Regions from separate parts of the Homo sapiens genome. Here region 1 is linked to region 2. The links are contacts of gene promoters, found by promoter capture Hi-C in human tissues and cell types (Jung and others, 2019). All regions are on one chromosome and are shown on one strand. Each heading gives the region's core, a stretch centred on a gene start or on the middle of the fragment in contact. The rest is flanking DNA. Distances are from core to core; before and after follow the strand shown.

The links. Contacts are between HindIII fragments. The study calls those that stand out against the background at their distance.
Region 1: a fragment that was not itself captured here is called in contact with the fragment with the promoter of HMGN2 in region 2 in 1 of the 25 tissues and cell types used here (pancreas).

What each region holds. Positions count from the first base shown.
Region 1 is chr1:27,545,222-27,550,145 of GRCh38, reverse strand. AHDC1 (AT-hook DNA binding motif containing 1) reads left to right here. Exons shown (of 9, transcript NM_001371928.1): 8 at 1-2,885. The coding sequence ends at 2,842. Among named protein-coding and RNA genes, the nearest start is that of AHDC1, 56 kb to the left of the region's middle. The HindIII fragment of the contact is 6,600 bases long and covers 1-4,641 here.
Region 2 is chr1:26,470,559-26,475,290 of GRCh38, reverse strand. HMGN2 (high mobility group nucleosomal binding domain 2) reads right to left here and starts at 2,851. Exons shown (of 6, transcript NM_005517.4): 1 at 2,664-2,851; 2 at 1,764-1,808; 3 at 1,559-1,588; 4 at 1,156-1,206; 5 at 624-719; 6 at 1-178. The coding sequence starts at 2,678. The coding sequence ends at 143. It overlaps DHDDS (dehydrodolichyl diphosphate synthase subunit), which reads right to left. Exons shown (of 9, transcript NM_205861.3): 9 at 3,985-4,732. RefSeq lists silencers at 2,127-2,296, 2,337-2,626, 2,887-3,156, 3,041-3,456 and enhancers at 2,826-3,535, 3,536-4,244. The HindIII fragment of the contact is 14,054 bases long and covers 1-4,732 here.

The sequences.
Region 1 (4,924 bases), core at 92-2,591, 1.1 Mb before region 2:
CTTCCTGCATCGTGTGCAGGGCTTCCGGCGGCGTGGGGGCAAAGCAGGCGGTTTTGGTGGCCGGGGTGGGGGCCATGCGGCCAAGTCAGCCCGATGCTCCTTCAGTGACTTCTTTGAGGGCATCGGCAAGAAAAAGAAGGTGGTGGCCGTGGCAGCCGCTGGGGTCGGGGGCCCGGGCCTTACTGAGTTGGGGCACCCACGCAAACGGGGCCGGGGGGAGGTAGACGCTGTGACTGGGAAGCCAAAGCGCAAGAGACGGTCCCGGAAGAATGGGACTCTGTTCCCAGAGCAGGTGCCCAGTGGCCCAGGCTTTGGGGAGGCAGGTGCTGAGTGGGCCGGGGATAAGGGTGGTGGCTGGGCCCCTCACCATGGGCACCCAGGCGGACAAGCTGGCCGAAACTGTGGGTTTCAGGGGACCGAGGCCCGGGCCTTTGCCTCCACTGGGCTGGAGAGTGGAGCCTCAGGCCGTGGCAGCTACTACAGCACGGGTGCACCCTCAGGCCAGACCGAGCTCAGCCAGGAGCGCCAAAACCTCTTCACCGGCTACTTTCGCTCGCTGCTCGATTCGGATGACTCCTCCGATCTCTTGGACTTTGCCCTCTCAGCCTCTCGCCCAGAGTCCCGGAAGGCATCGGGCACCTATGCAGGGCCACCCACCAGTGCCCTGCCTGCCCAGCGGGGCCTGGCCACCTTCCCTAGCCGGGGAGCCAAGGCCAGCCCAGTGGCAGTGGGTAGCAGCGGGGCTGGGGCGGACCCCTCCTTTCAGCCTGTCCTGTCCGCGCGCCAGACCTTCCCACCAGGACGAGCAGCAAGCTATGGGCTAACTCCAGCCGCTTCAGACTGCCGGGCAGCCGAGACCTTCCCCAAGCTGGTGCCCCCGCCCTCAGCCATGGCCCGCTCACCTACCACCCACCCGCCTGCCAACACCTACCTGCCCCAGTACGGCGGCTATGGGGCCGGACAAAGCGTATTCGCCCCAACTAAGCCCTTTACAGGCCAGGACTGCGCTAACAGCAAGGACTGCAGCTTCGCCTATGGCAGTGGCAACAGCCTCCCTGCCTCACCCAGCAGCGCCCACAGCGCCGGCTATGCCCCACCGCCTACCGGGGGCCCCTGCCTGCCACCAAGCAAGGCCTCCTTCTTCAGCAGCTCTGAGGGGGCCCCCTTCTCTGGTTCAGCCCCCACGCCCCTGCGCTGTGACAGCCGGGCCAGCACAGTCTCGCCCGGTGGCTACATGGTACCCAAGGGCACCACAGCCTCTGCCACCTCTGCAGCCTCTGCCGCCTCCTCCTCCTCCTCCTCCTTCCAGCCCTCGCCCGAGAACTGTCGGCAGTTTGCGGGGGCTTCTCAGTGGCCTTTCCGGCAGGGCTATGGAGGCCTGGACTGGGCCTCAGAGGCCTTTAGTCAGCTCTACAATCCCAGTTTTGACTGCCACGTCAGCGAGCCCAACGTGATCCTGGACATCTCCAACTACACACCGCAGAAGGTGAAGCAGCAGACGGCTGTGTCGGAGACCTTCTCTGAGTCATCCTCCGACAGCACCCAGTTCAATCAGCCGGTTGGTGGCGGGGGGTTTCGGCGTGCCAACAGCGAGGCCTCAAGTAGTGAGGGCCAGTCGAGCCTGTCCAGCCTGGAGAAACTGATGATGGACTGGAACGAGGCATCATCTGCCCCCGGCTACAACTGGAACCAGAGTGTCCTCTTTCAGAGTAGCTCCAAGCCGGGCCGTGGACGGCGGAAGAAGGTGGACCTGTTCGAGGCCTCACATCTGGGCTTCCCGACATCCGCCTCTGCCGCTGCCTCAGGCTACCCATCCAAACGGAGCACTGGGCCCCGGCAGCCGCGAGGTGGACGGGGCGGTGGGGCCTGCTCAGCCAAGAAGGAGCGGGGTGGCGCAGCGGCCAAAGCCAAGTTCATCCCCAAGCCACAGCCAGTCAACCCACTGTTCCAGGACAGTCCTGACCTCGGCCTGGACTACTATAGCGGGGACAGCAGCATGTCACCACTGCCCTCACAGTCGAGGGCCTTCGGCGTGGGAGAGCGAGACCCCTGTGACTTCATAGGACCCTACTCCATGAACCCGTCCACGCCTTCCGATGGCACCTTTGGCCAAGGCTTCCACTGCGACTCGCCCAGCCTGGGTGCTCCCGAGCTTGATGGCAAGCATTTCCCACCGCTGGCCCACCCACCCACGGTGTTTGACGCCGGCCTGCAGAAGGCATACTCGCCCACCTGCTCGCCTACACTGGGCTTCAAGGAAGAGCTGCGGCCACCGCCCACAAAGCTGGCTGCCTGCGAGCCCCTCAAGCATGGACTCCAGGGGGCCAGCCTGGGCCACGCAGCTGCAGCCCAGGCCCACCTGAGCTGCCGGGACCTGCCGCTGGGCCAGCCCCACTACGATTCCCCCAGCTGCAAGGGCACAGCCTATTGGTACCCTCCAGGCTCAGCTGCCCGCAGCCCGCCCTATGAAGGCAAGGTGGGTACAGGGCTGCTGGCTGACTTCCTGGGCAGGACGGAGGCCGCGTGCCTCAGTGCCCCTCACCTGGCTAGCCCACCAGCCACGCCCAAGGCCGACAAGGAGCCACTGGAAATGGCCCGGCCCCCTGGCCCACCCCGTGGCCCTGCTGCAGCCGCTGCTGGCTATGGCTGCCCACTCCTTAGTGACTTGACCCTGTCCCCCGTGCCGAGGGACTCGCTGCTGCCCCTGCAGGACACCGCCTACAGGTACCCAGGCTTTATGCCCCAGGCGCATCCTGGCCTGGGTGGGGGCCCCAAGAGCGGCTTCCTGGGGCCCATGGCGGAACCTCACCCCGAGGACACATTCACCGTCACATCCCTGTAGTGCCAACTGAAGTGCCGACTGGACCGCGAGGTTTTGTTCCTGGGTGAGTCTGGGGATGTGGGCGCAGTGGGCAGAGGCCTGGGGGTGGGAAGAGGACATCAGAGCTTAGGCAAGGACAGAGGTATGGAGTGCAGGAAGCAAATGCAGGATTTAAGGGCAAGGCTGGGGACTGAGAGCAGGGTGTAGGGATTCAGGATTCGCTGTTGCGGACAGTCTCAGGAGGAGATGGGGTGCTTGGGCTGGGAACTCAGCAGGGGGCTTGAACGTTCGGGGGGGTCTTGTGAATTGAAATGGCCAGAGGACTACACACTGGATGGGGCCCTGTAGTTTGGTTTATTAAGCTTTCAATTATTTGTTCATGCTATGTCTTGGGCAGGAAGTGAGTATTTCCCAGGAAATACGCTGATAAGGGTGGGCATTTGTATCGCCCTGTGTGAGACAGGTGAAGGGAGAAGCAGGTTGGACGGTCGTCTACCCAGGGCCTATCCAGAGGACCAGCCCTGCTGGCACCCCCATTTCCCTGGGAGCTTCACTGATTCTAAGAGGCAGCCTGGTGAGGGCCAGGCCAAGAGTGGCCAGTGTGGCGTGGTCACACACTCTGCAAGGGCTTCACAGGATGGTCCAAAATGTCCTCTCTTGGCCTCCCAAGGTACCCCCAAAGGCTATTTTCCAACATCTTTGGTCTGAGATAGGCTAGGTGTGGCCAGGAGCATGTGGGGTAGGGACCCAGAAGTGGAGAAGGGGTGCTGGGGTCCCACTGTCCCTGCAAACCTGCAGCCAGTGAGGCTATCTTCAGGCAAAGGTATTTTGACCCTAGAAAAGCCAGTCCCTTTCCTGAAGCCAAAGACTTTTCTGAGAGTTCAGTTAAAGAGTGTTAAATGTTTTGATACTGTTTTTATCAGGTACTGTGACCTCATTAGTTGGAGTCAGTTTTAGTATTCTCAAGATTTGGTGTTTTAAAAAAGGAAAATAAAAGACAGAAAATGCCCCCAAAATGATCAAAGGGAACAAGGTTGAAGGAGCCATCTTCTTGAAGAACAGCCTGCTCCCGAAATACAGCCGCCACTGGCCCCACTTTTGGACAACAGATCTGTCACAAAATTGGCCCAGATGTGGTGGTTGGTGATGGGGCAGACTGGGGGCATGCCTGCGTCCCTCACCCTTCACCTCTGCTGCCACTGAAGCTTCCTGGGAGTTTCTCTTCCTGGAGGAGTAGCTGGGCTCCTGGAAAGTCCCATCCGTGCTCTGGGAGGCCATTCAAGGCCAGGGTGACTCAGGGTCCTGAAGTCATGTCAGTGGAAACTTGTTGCCCCCTCTCTGCCAGACCCCAGCTCCCCTGGTGCCTGAAGGTGACAAAGGGCAGCATGCAGGAGTCCGGAGGCCTCCGGGAGGACCATTCCCAGATTGGCCACCAACTTCCCACATGCCCTTGACCAAGCTTTTGCCCCTCTCTGGGCCTCAGTTTCCCCATCTTTTCAAGGAAATTTACTTTGATAATCCCTTAGGCTCTCGCAGCTCTGCATGGCAGAGACAATGAAGCAAACTTTTTTTTTTTTTTTGGCAGCATCTTTTCCTTCCTGATGAAGCCAGGCCAAGATTAAAATGGCCTTCCATTCCCCATGCGTCTCATTGCAACCAGCAGAGCCTCAGATCTGAAGCAGGCCAGGGAGAAACTGCTTAGGGTTTAAAATGTCAAACTCTTGATCCTTCTCACTGGCGGGGAGATGTCTCATGGATAATCCAGAAATGTGAAATAATCCAAAAACCGTTCCTCCCAGGCTCTGGGTGGGAAAATGGACGGGTGTGGGGGCTGGGTGTTTGGGCAGGTCACAGCTCAGTGAAGTACATAATGGAACCACCCAGTGAGGCCTGAACGCAGGAGGAACTGGGATGCCATCCAGCCCCACATTCTGGCCCTGCTCCCCACTCAGGGCTGTGAGTTAACTGCGCTGTCCTCAAACCAATGCATTCCATTGTTCTAGAGACATCTGTCCAGCACCCACTAGAAGCCAGGCATTGGGGGCACCACAGTGAACACCACAAATGAGGTACTGGTCCTCAGGGGGCTTCCCATTTAGAGGG
Region 2 (4,732 bases), core at 1,602-4,101:
GTGTTCTGTGTGCTAACAACATAGCTTTTAAAAAAAAAAAAAAAGTAAAACAAAATTCTGCATTTTTATAAAACTTGATAAAAAATAGTATTTCAAACTGTACAGTCACCAGAAGTACACAGTTATCAAAAATGCACACACTTCACTTGGCATCTCCAGCACCTTCAGCTTTCTGTGCCTAAAAGAAAACAGACAAATTAATGCAATGCGTAGATTTCAAAACTATCTGTGTTCACATTCCACCTACAGCATCACTTTGCTCCCAGGCCAAAGTTCAGGTTTCAGGTACTGAGACTCAGTATTTCTTCTGAGAATGACTTACTAGGTAACTTTGCTAAGTCACCTCTCCTCTGGGCCTCACTGTAAAATTGAGGTAGGAAGAACACCAGAATAAGAGACCTGAGGTTACTCCTAGCTTGAAAACTTCATGTAGTATAAAACACAATGCCCTTCAGCTGACAGTAGAGATTTCAAGAATCCAGGATTTAAGTTAACAGGAAAGCCACAAGCACACTGGACCAAATGGTACATTTGGAGTGATACAAGAAAAGGGCAATTAAATTTTTGATATCAGCAACTAACTGAATGAACAAATCTAACAAAGGGTGAAACAGCAGTTATACCTGGTCTGTTTTGGCATCTCCATTTTCTGCAGGGTTATTCCCCTCCTTGCCAGCATCAGCTTTTCCCTTTTTCCCTTTGGGTACCTTCTCTCCCTTCTGAAAAAGGGGAAAAAATAGAACTGTTTCTCCCCATTTCGTATTACCAAGGTATGGTCTGCAAAGTTCTGCACAAGGTAGGATTGTTTACTCAAGATAAAACACAAACCCTCACCCATTTGACAAGAACAACTGATCAAAACTAGGCTAAATTATCTGTAATTTGCTATAATCTTTAGTACTTAGAATTTCCTAAGTAACAGAAGAATAAATTAGTTTAAACCCTGGGGTATTTAATATTTAAATGCAGATTTTCCTATAAACTAACAACAGAATTCTTGATCAGGAAACCAACGTTATGAATGACACGGACGAGGTAAGCTATCCACACAGTTTATAACCTCCATTAATGGAGGCACCATTATGCTAATTAAGTTAAGGCACTAAGGACAGTCCTCATTCTGTGAAAATGATCAGTTCCAATGTTAGCACTTACCTTTGCAGGGGCCTTTTTAGGCTTGGGCTCTGGCTTTGGAGGAGCAGGTTTCTTTTTTTGGCAGGAAGAGAGGAAAAAGTGAACATCAGTACAATGGACTGAAGAAAACCACCCACAACCAACCAAAAGTACCAAGGGTAGAGAAGTTTCTCCTCCTCCTCAAAAGTTTTTGTGGTTGGCTTTCTTCTAGAATGTTGGATTTCCAGAAGCCCACTCAAATGTCCCACTTTGGCTACAGGCATCAGAATTTCAGAACCAGCAAAACCCAAAGGGGCAAGAGTCCCAAGTAGAGGCAATGATTCAAAACCAGGCACTAACCATAATTCATGGAAGCAAAGGGAATTGTTTTTTGATGTTTTTTAGTTTCAGGGACAAGCACGAAAATTCAAAAGCATACACTTACAGCAGACAACCTCGCGGATCTTCTCTGTGGCTATTAAAGACAACGAGAAAGTTAGAAATAGGACAGGTAAGTCGCTTTGAAAGTTTGGTATCAATTTGCTCTAGATTATAGGAGTGTAAATTCAGGACACAGGTTACGGTTAATCACCGAGTCCAGTGGCCTCTGCTAGTCCAAGGCTTTGACCCTTGAAGAGAGAATGACTTACTTCGTCCTTCACCTTTGCTTTATCTCCCTTAGCATCCCCTTCAGCCTATAAGAAACAAGAACAAAAAACTGCAGATTTTGAGGTGGTTCTTAATTACTTCCCAAACTTTAGAGTGCTAAAAATGAAAATTAAAGCAGTCGTCCACACAACTTTTCTAGGACATAAATGAGTGAGCCCGACGTTCGTATAAGAACGAAGCGCGCGCAGGAGCTCCGGCTCGCCGACCCCGAGAAGCGAGGGCTGGACCGGAGCGCAGCCGGGGAGGGCAGCGGAGCCCGCACCACCGCGACAGGCAGGAGCAACAGCTGCAGATGGCGCAAACAAACCCCCTCCGGAGGCGGAGCCCAGCGCCGTTGCTATGGCAGCCGTCGAGGGCGGGAGAGGGAGGCGCGCGCAGCCCGGGGAACTCGTGGGCGGCGACAGCGCGCGTCTCGTGCGCGGGGAACGTGGGCGAGGGGGCGGGGCCATACCGCACAAGCCCCGCCCCTCACGGCGGCGGTTTTTTGGCGGCAGCGCTTTCCCCCGCCCGCCAACCCCGAGCGCCGCCTTCCCGCCCTTTCGGGTTTGAATTGCCCGCCCGCAGGGAGGGGAGGGAAGGGGCCCTCGCGATGGGGGAGGGGGCACGGGGCGGGGGCGGCGAGCCCGAGGAGAGCGGGATAAACAGCCGCCAACATGGCTCCTCCCGCCGCGGCCGCCGCTCCTCCAATATGGCCTCTGGCGCCCGCGGGCAGCCGAGCCGCTCAGGGTTAGCCCCGAGCTGCCCGACACCGTCTCCAGCCCCCGCGCGGGGAGGCTGCGCTGGCTCCTGCTCGGCGCCGATTCTCGCTCCCTGCACCAGGGAGGCGGCGGCGGCGGTGGCGGCAGTGGTGGCCCGGCGCCTGGGGCCCTCGCGCCACGTACCTTTCTCTTGGGCATGGTGGCGGCGGCGACGGCAGCGGGACGTAGGTGCTGGACGCGGGATGCAGCGGCGCGCGGGCTTTGGTCGGTCCGGGGGTCGTTCTCGCCTCTTCTTCACACTGCTCGGGCTCCGGGGGGTTTATAAAGTTTTTATAGCGCTGGGAGCCCCGGACCGGTTAGAACCGGATTTCACCTCCCGCCGCCGTTCATTGGCCCAGCTGGGGTCACGTGGGCGGGGTTTAAACTCACCTCCTCTGGAGGGAGTGAGGAGGGGGGTGTGTGGGGGGGGTAGTGCGCGGAGACGGCGGCGCGCCGAGGGGGTGGGGGCGCAGTCGGGGTGGCGCGCGTCGAAGGCAGTAAATGAGGAGGGGTGCGCGAGTCGGCGGGCTCCGGGTTCCGGCTCCCGCCAAGAGCTGTCTTTTGCAAACTAGCAAGTTCCTTCCACCTTATGCAACCCAGCAACCCACTTCTCCAAGCCGTGCGACACTCACGGCGCATCTCAGCGGCTTTCCTTCCTGCTCCCGCTGGGGGCCCCAGAAGAGGGGTTTGCGAGGCCTGGCTGCACTGCCCTGCTCCTCTGGAAGCAGGAGGAAGCGCGCGGCTGGAGGCACAGGCTGCAGTTCCCAGAGCCCAGGCTGACGCCAAAGTGGGAAAAAGGCGGGGAAACCAGCTTGGCGCAGCCGGACGTGCATCCTTCCGAGCTGCCACTTCGGAGAAGCCTTTCGTGCACCTCACCTGAAAGACGGTCCCACTCGAGGTGGGCTAGGGGTTTCAGGGGGAGACTTTCCATGCAGAGGTGCCTTTTGGGTGCCGTGGGTCAGGTAGGAGCTGTCCTTTCAGCACCCGTTGCGCAGCCGCCTCCCCAAATGCTATCGAAGCCCCCACCCCCAACTCCTCTCGGGTGGCTCCCTTAAGGTCCCTGTATTCCCAAACCTCCAGACCCCGCCACAGTATGGTGGAGAGCGGCCGTCGAGGTCTACCAGCACTCACTTCCCCCTACACTCTACCCCTCTCGGAGACATTTTGCCCAGCTGCCCAACCCGACGCGGCCACCAAGCCTGGGCACTGCAGCCGCAGCTGGCGAAATCCCTCCTTCCACACTGTCAAGCTGGCTGCCTTTCACTTGCGCGAGGAAAGGAGGGTGGAGGAAAGCGCCCGGGGATTAGGAAACAAGTAGAGGAACAGGTGGTGTGATGGCAAAAGGGCTCTTCCGGTGCCCCCTAGTCCAAAGCCAGGGTCTTGGAGCTAGCCAAGTGCACCTGAGGGAGGGTAGGCAATTGCAGCAGCAAAAGAAGGTGTTCTTCCGTTGCAGTTAGCAAACAAGTTTTACATCTAAGAATCTTTAAAAATTCTATTTGAGACCCAGCACACAAGAATACGATAGATGTCCTCAAATGGGGGCTTGGCTCACAGGTGGAAGGACACTAAATTGGTCCCATCTGATTTCTTGAGGCAAGGGTTGAACCTGGCTTGCACAAATCACACCTGTCCAAAGCAACCACGAGTTCTACTATTTTGCAGCCCTTGCTGCTGGGCGACGACGACGACCTCTCTGCCTCTTCTTTCCACCACTACATCGCCTCCTGGGGCAGCTTCTCCCTACTCCACCCTGTGTACCTTTCCCAGAATACAGAACCTCAGGCCAAAGAGAGATGCCAGCCCCATTAATCACCTCTACTGTACCCCAATCATATTACGGAAAGTCAGACCCAGGAGACAGGACTCAACAGCCACGCTCATAGGGCAGATTCCGTTTGCTGCCTCCAGCCCCTCATTCCCGCCTTAATTGTAGGGCTCTGCATTATAGCCGCATAATTCATGCCTCCCTAATTATGGCTGTCAACAGCCCCATTGTAAAGCTGTAAAATGTACAGCACCTGCTCTCCAGGAACCCTGTGCCAGGGATTGGTAGAGGGGAGTGCCAGGTGTGGATGGGGGCTTTGCCAAAGGGTTCACTGATTGGCTTCTCAATCGCCGTGTCTGGCATTTATGCTTGATTCTGGGAGCATGGACAATAGCCAAGAAGTCTCTTGCCGCCAGGTATCCCGGGACAGAAAGGGGAAGAGGCGGGT